Regions from separate parts of the Homo sapiens genome. Here region 2 is linked to region 1. Evidence: promoter capture Hi-C in human tissues and cell types (Jung and others, 2019). All regions are on one chromosome and are shown on one strand. Each heading gives the region's core, a stretch centred on a gene start or on the middle of the fragment in contact. The rest is flanking DNA. Distances are from core to core; before and after follow the strand shown.

The links. Contacts are between HindIII fragments. The study calls those that stand out against the background at their distance.
Region 2: a contact is called between a fragment that was not itself captured here and the fragment with the promoter of CTRC in region 1, in 1 of the 25 tissues and cell types used here (ovary).

What each region holds. Positions count from the first base shown.
Region 1 is chr1:15,437,187-15,440,768 of GRCh38, reverse strand. It overlaps CTRC (chymotrypsin C), which reads right to left and starts at 2,326. Exons shown (of 8, transcript NM_007272.3): 1 at 2,265-2,326; 2 at 378-469; 3 at 179-276. The coding sequence starts at 2,304. The HindIII fragment of the contact is 5,601 bases long and covers 1-3,582 here.
Region 2 is chr1:15,487,940-15,492,077 of GRCh38, reverse strand. CELA2B (chymotrypsin like elastase 2B) reads right to left here. Exons shown (of 8, transcript NM_015849.3): 8 at 683-783. The coding sequence ends at 766. It overlaps CASP9 (caspase 9), which reads left to right. Exons shown (of 9, transcript NM_001229.5): 9 at 1-677. Among named protein-coding and RNA genes, the nearest start is that of CELA2B, 14 kb to the right of the region's middle. The HindIII fragment of the contact is 4,003 bases long and covers 533-4,138 here.

The sequences.
Region 1 (3,582 bases), core at 1,077-3,576:
TGGCACATAATAGATGCACAATGAATACTTGACTGACTAAATGCACAACTGAGTTACTGGGTGTGAGTAGATTATGTAGCCCAGTGCCTGGAGTGCGGAGAAGCTGCTCAGAAAAAGCAGAGTATCAGGCTTCCGCCCCCGGACGATGGCCAGGTCTCAGGGTATCATCCCCGCACACCTGATGCAGTGGGCGGCAGTGAGGACGAAGTTGCTAGCAATCAAAGTCCCGCCACACGTATGCCTCCACGTGTCGTTCTTGAGGTACTGGAGGGAGATCTGCAGGAGGGTGGGGAGGGCTGTGTGTCAGCCTGCAGGTCCCTGGGACCCTCACCCCGCCACCCTCTCTATCTGTACCTCCCAGCCCTACACAGGCTTACCTGCCAGGGCCAGCTGTGGGGCCGGGCATCCTCTCCTCCCACCACTCGGGCGGATAGGTTGGGCGGGAAGCTGGGCACCCCACAGCTGGAGGCTGGGGAGACAGGAGGCCAGAAGAACCAGTGAATAGGGCTGGTAGCCCACGGGGAAAGGGGTGGGAGGGTGGGCAGGTGGAAGAAGCACAGAGTTGGGGCTGGGCAGACACGGGGTTGATATTTTACTGTGTCACGGGGGTAAGCCACCCAGGTCTCTAGGCCTTGTTTTCCCTTTCTGTGAAATGTGAAGAATCACACTAATGCGGTGAGTTTGCCCTGAGAACTGAATTAGACAACACATAAAAAAGAAAGCGTTTGGCCGGGCACGGTGGCTCACACCTGTAATCCCAGCACTTTGGGTGGCCAAGGCGGGTGGATCGCTTGAGATCAGGGGTTTGACACCAGCCTGGCCAACATGGCGAAACCCTGTCTCTACTAAAAATACAGAAATTAGCCAGGCGTGGTGGTGCATGCCTGTAATCCCAGCCACTCAGGAGGCTGAGGCAGGAGAATCGCTTGAGCCTGGGAGATGGAGGTTGCAGTGAGCCGAGATCGTGCCATTGCACTCCATCCTGGGTGATAAGAGCAAAACTCCATCTCAAAAAACAAAACAAAACAAAACAAAACTGGCTGGCATGTGTGCGAGTGCCCGGTACACCTGTGTTCTTCTGTCTGTTTTTAGGCCCCTGCATCATGGTGTGTGTGTGAGAGAGCAGTAAATCCACTGTTATAGCTGGGAAGCTGTGTGGAGCGGTCAAGAACACGTGCTGTTCCGCGAGACAGACGTGGACTCAAATTCTGCCTCTTCCACTAACCTGCCATGTGATGTCAGGCAAGATACTAAGTCGCACGGAACCTCGATGTCCTCATCTGTAAAATGGGGCTATGAAAAGACCCTACCTCTTTTTCTTTCTTTTTCTTTTTTTTTTTTTTTTGAGACGGAGTTTCACTCTTGTTGCCCAGGCTGGAGTTTGATGGCGCGATCTCGGCTCACTGCAACCTCCTCCTGGGTTCAAGCAATTCTCCTGCCTCAGCCTTCTGAGTAGTTGGGATTACAGGTGCCCGCCACCACGCCTGGCTAATTTTTGTATTTTTAGTAGAAACGGGGTTTCATCTTGTTGGCCAGACTGGTCTCAAACTCCTGATCTCAAGTGATCCACCCACCTCGGCCTCCCAAAGTGCTGGGATTACAGGCGTGAGCCACCATGCCTGGCAATAGACCCTACCTCTTAAGGTTGTTTTGAGGATTAAATTGGCTCCTACATGTAAGGGGCCTAGCATAGCGTCTGGCACATAGTAAACACACAGGAAACAGGAGCTGCTATTATTACTGTTGTTGTTGTTAGCTGGAAGGACTCTTCATTAAGTGCTCTCCTTTGCCAAAAAAGTTAGTGAGATTTAGAGAGGTGAAATGACTTTTCCAGGTCCTGCAGAGAAGAAGTGGCATTTAAGCTAAGTCCCTGGGCTCCTAATCTGGGAAAACGCCACCAAAATGATGGAATGGAGAATCCTCAAGGGAGAGAGAATGCTGGGAAAGGCAGACCCCGATGGTCCCTGGGGTGAACCCAGGATGAGGCATCTCGTGTCCCTCCCCCTTGCGTGGTGCTTTCCACACCTCATTTCTAACTGGGGACACGTCAGATCATCTTCCCTGTTTTGCAGATGTGGAAACAGAGTTGGCAGGCAGGCTGTGGCTTGTCTGACACACAGCTGGTTGGTAGCATCTGAACCCACAGGGGACCCCAAAGTGTCTTACCTGGAGAGCAGAGGCCCCCCCACTCCCCATCCCGTCCTTGCCCTGGAGGCCAGCCCGAGCTCACAGCCTGCTAGCTGCAGCCCCACCCCACCGCTTACCACAGGCCAAGAGCGCAGCGAGGACAGTGATGCCCAACATGGTTAGGTGCTCAGGACTGGCTGACCATCGGGATGGGCTGGGGCACACTTATAGGCAGGAGCAGGTGAGTGCACCTGGTCAAGGCCAAACCGCCCCTTGGAGAGAAACCTGCTCTGATAAGGCCCTTTCCCTGACCTTGGGTGGTTACTGTTTAATTTGGGCAGGAGACAGGGCTTTCTTAGAAGTATGGATTTTCCAAATATCCTGAAACAGAAAATTCTGAGTTGCAGTGCTTTTTGGCATCCCCCACCCCACTCTGTTTGACGTGTGTGTTCATTCTCTCTCCCTACCTTATACTATTTATTTATTTATTTGGAGATGGAGTCTTGCTCTGTTGCCCAGGCTGAAATGCAGTGGCACAGTCTCAGCTCACTGCAACCTCCACCTCCCGGGCTCAAACGATTCTCGTGCCTTAGCCCCCTGTGTAGCTGGGACTACAGGCGCCTGCCACCACGCCAGGTTAATCTTTTGTATTTTATTTATTTTTTTGAGACAGGATCTTGCTCTGTCACCCAGGCTGGAGTCTCAGCTCACTACAACCTCCGCCTCCCGAGTTCAAGCGATTCTCCTGTCTCAGCCTCCCAAGTAGCTGGGACTACAGATGTGTGCCACCATTTTTTTTTTTTTTTTTTTTTTGTATTTTAGTAGAGACAGGGTTTCACCCTGTTGCCTAGGGTGGTCTTGAACTCCTGAGCTTAGGCAATCTGCCTACCTCAGCCTCCCAAAGTGCTAGGATTACAGGTGTGATTACAGGCCGTTACCTTATTCTTTTTAGTTATTTATTGGGCACCTACTGTGTGTCAGGCATTGCGCTCAATTCTTCTTGCATTATCTCACTTAATTCTTCCAACAACATGAAATAGACGCGGTTATCTGCTCTGAGGTGAGATGAGAAAGGACCAGGCGCAGTGGTGCATGCCTGTAGTCCCAGCTACTCCTGAGGCCAAGGTAGGAGGATCGCTTGAGCCCAGGAGTTCGAGGCTGCAGTGAGCCGTGATCGTGCCACACTGCATTCCAGCGCGGGTGACAGAACAAGACCTTGTCTCTAAAAAAATAAAATAAAAGTGAGGAAGCTGAGACTCAGCGGGTAAGTGACCATCTAGGGTCACACGGCTGGGCAGCAGCAGAGCCAGACTTTGAAGCCAAAGCTTCTAACACCAGCCTGGGGCTTCAAGCTGTGGAGACATGCTGCTCCTTCTCTGCCTTTCTAGTGCTATTGGATCGCTTCCTGGCTCTCTCTCTGTCTCATCTTTCTAATTGCCTGGGCTTGATGCACTC
Region 2 (4,138 bases), core at 1,285-3,784, 51 kb before region 1:
CCCATTTATTCATGTCTTATTTCACTTGATCCTTATCCCATCCCAGGAAGGCAACAAGGGTGAGAACCCTGTGCTCAGGGAGGTTAGGTCTCTTGTCCAAGGGAAAACGATTATCCAGAGAAGAGACCTGGCCAGAACCTGGGTCCCCTGAGTCCTAGCCATGCTTCCCATGTGCCTTACTTGCTGAAGCACCCCCGGACTGCAGTGTGAACGTGCTGTGCAATAGTGACACGCTGGGCTTCCCCACAAGGCTCCACCCTGAGGTCTTTTAAGCTGTCCTTATGCCAGCCTATTTCTTGTTTTTTGGGCCTTTTTTTTTGGAGATAGGGTCTCACTCTGTCGCCCAGGCTGGAGTGCAATGACGCAATCTTGGCTTATTGCAGTCTCGACCTCCTGGGCTCAAGAGATCCTTCCACCTCAGCCACCTGAGTAGCTTGGACTACAGGTGTGCACCACCTCTCCCAGTTAATTTTTGTATTTTTAGTAGAGACAGAGTTATGCCATGTTACTCAGGCTGGTCTTGAACTCCTGGACTCAAGCGATCAGCCTGCCTTAGCCTCCCAAAGTGCAGGGGTTACAGGCTTGAGCCATTGCGCCTGACCTATTTCTGGTTCTTAGGGCCCTGGATGTTAGGATGGATTTCTGAATTAATAATAATAATAAAACCCTCATCAAGATGTGATTTGCATAGTTGTCACTTTATATAATATTATTTTCCTTCTGTGACCTTTCCAAGTCTGAAACAGTCCCAGGGACTTCTTTTGGTTAGTTATTTGCAATCACCTGCAGGACACACACACAAGAAAATTGTCAGGTTCACGTAACCACAGAGCTGTGCGTGGCAGTTTCCTGTCTCTGTCCTCCTGGGCTAAGCTACTCAAGTGAGTCACAGGCAGCCCACACTACAGTAGCTCCTGCCTGAGGAGTTCAGATGATGTTTCGGAGAAAAAGATGCAATCACAGCTTTTCATTGACCTGTTAGGGTCTTCCTGTAAAGGGGGTCTTAGCCAGGAGTCCTGTGTGGGCTTCAGGTCAGGGGGCCTTCGAACCCCCTAAAAATTATATGCCAAATGTGCGGATGGCATATTTTTAGATTTCATTTGTTTCTCATCAAAACTGCTGTTTGCAAGGCAGTTATGCACTGTGGTTGGGGCTATAACTGTTTCCAGAGGCTGTTGATCAGTATCTGTTAAACTTTTTTTTTTTTTTTTTGAGACAGTCTTGCTCTGTTGCCCAGACGAGTACAGTGGCATATTCTAGGCTCACTGCAACCTCTGCCTCCCAGGTTCAAGCGATTCTCCTGCCTTAGCCTCCCGAGTAGCTGATATTACAGGTGTGCACCACCATGCCTGGCTGATTTTTTTGCATTTTTAGTAGAGACAGGGTTTCACCATGTTGGCCAGGCTGGTCTCGAACTGCTGACCTCAAGTGATCTACCCGTCTCGGCTTCCCAAAGTGCTCGGATTACAGGCGTGAGCCACCGCGCCCAGCCTGTTAAACATTTTGATATGCCAACTTCATGATCCAGTGCTGTAAACGGCAGGATATCCAGCTGCTACAGCACAAATACTCAAGTGTGCAAGAATTATGTCCAAGGATGTTCATTGCACAATGTAAGAGTGAAAAATAGGAAACATGAAAGCTGCATTCATTACACTCAAACTATGGAATACTATTTAGCTGTTCAAAAGAATGACATGTATGTACTGACATGTAAAATGTGATAAGGTGTTAAGTGAAAAATAGCTGCAGAACAGTATGAAGACTCAGATCCTAGTTTTTGCTTAGAAGACAGTGTCTATGTGTGTGTGTGTGTATATAGATAGATAGATAGATAGATAGATAGATAGATAGATATGCACATAAAGTTGAGAAGACCACACACCAAGCTTTTAACAATGATTGGCAGGGCGAAGTGGCTCACGCTTGTAATCCCAGCACATTGGGAGGCTGAGGTGGGCAGATCACCTGAGGTCAGGAGTTTGAGACCAGCCTGGCCAACATGGTGAAACCCCATCTCTACTAAAAATACAAAAATTAGTTGGGCATGGTGGTGCATGCCTGTAATCCCAGCTAGTTAGGAGGCTGAGGCAGGAGAATTGCTTGAACCCGGGAGGCGCAGGTTGCAGTGAGCTGAGATCAAGCCACTGTACTCCAGCCTGTGCAACAGAGCGAGACTCCATTTGAAAAAAAACAAAACAAAAACAATGATTACCTCTGGAGAGTGGAATTGGAGATGTAAAATGAGGGGGGACTTCTACTTTTTTACTTGATACTCTCCTGTATTCTTTTAATATTTTTACAAAGAGTATGTATTACCTTCTGGAAAAAGAATAAAAACTAAGGATTGCTGGAGTTCATGTGTGACTGTCATTCAACTGACATTTGTTGAAAGGATGAATGCCGCAGGCCACTTGTCTCCTCTGCTTCTCTGCTCTTATCTTTTGCTTGTACTTCCTGACCTTGGCTTGTCACCTGTCTGGGTTTATCCAGGCAGGTGCTCTCAGTCACCCCCAGGGCTCTAGTGGTACGTGACTCCAGGCTGCACACACTGTGTCCCTGGGTTGGGGCCACTTCAAGGTTTCACTAGCCCCTCTGCCGCTGCCAGGGGCAGCCCCCACCCAAGGACAGCTGGTTGCTTGGCTCTCCCCCTTCTGAAACCCGTTACCGGGCATCTGTGCCTGTCCCGACTGCTCTCCCATGAACACAGGGCCTCTGCCCAGCTGCCTCGGGAGGCGTGCTGCCCCGTGGATCCCTGCTGCCATCTGGCCATGCTTTGGGATCTGGCCTGTTCTGTTGTGCTTGTGTCTGTGGCTGGGAACAGCTGATGCTGGGAACAGCTGATGCTGGGACAACAGATCGGGACAATTGCCCCTGCCCCTGCTTCAGGTCCCCAGGATGCTGCCAGGACCAGCTGCACGGTGACTCCCACAGCAGCTGGGGCTGGAAAACGGTCTTAGGATTTGGCTGGGAAAGGCCCCTAAGCAGCCTTTCGTCCAGTCAGTCTCAGGCCAGGCTCCTTTGACGTGCGTGGTGCCTCCAAAGGTGGACTCAGATGGGTTTTTCCCAATTTAGATATAAAAAGCCCCAATTAATGATTAATGGCTACTGTCTTTTTGATTTTCCATTTTTTTCCAACAAACTTTTTTGGAATTTCTGCCTATGACCACTTGTTGGCAAAAGGATGCCAGCAGACAGACAAATGAACAAGGAGCTGGCAAGAATCAATGGGAACACTTGGAAGCAGCCACCTGCTTATTTTGACAGTTTAGTTTTCTCCCCTGACCACGTGCTTATGGCTGCAGTTTCATATTTGGTTTTATAAGTGTCAGTTTAATTCAATTTAACACTTCTCTGCAAATTAAACTTAGTGAAGTCAGATGTCAGCTTTCCCCTTCTTTGGGGGCTCTGCCACGAATACCATAACTCCCTCTTGCTCTAGTGCCTAAAAATGTGGAGGTCTAGTTCAAGTCCCACTTTACAGAAGAGCAAACAGGTGGTCCCTAATTGGCACAAAGTATCCGCCTCTTCTCCCCCAGCTTCTATTACCAGGCATGGTGTCTCCTCTGCCCTCTCCTGGGCTCCCCTTTCTTGTGACGGGGTTTCCTCTTCTGGCTGCTTTCATCTACTTCTGTGTGTATCCATGGCTGCTCCTTAATATTTATGCCAACTATTATTATCATTATTTTCAGAGACAGGGTCTTGCTATGTCGCTCAGGCTGCAGTGCAGTGGTGCGACCTTGGCTTACTGTAGGCTCCACCTCTTGGGCCAAAGCGATCCTTCCACCTCAGCCTCCCAAGCAGCTGAGACTACAGGCATGCACCACCATGGCTAATTAAAAAAAAAAATCTTTGTAAAGACAGAGTCTCGCTATGTTGCCCAGGCTGCTCTTGAACTCCTGGGCTCAAGCAATCCTCCTTCCTTGGCCTCCCAAAGTGCTGCGATTACAGGCATGAGCCATGGCACCTGGCCTATTATTTTTAATAAATATTTTTAATGCTTATTGTTATAAAAAATGTGTGTTCATTGTTAAAAAGAATTTGAGCTAGTGTGGAAGCTCACAGGAGACAGCTCTCTGAGTTTACATTTACAAGACGGGGACCAACTCAGCTTTATTTGCCTGGGATGGTCCCAGTG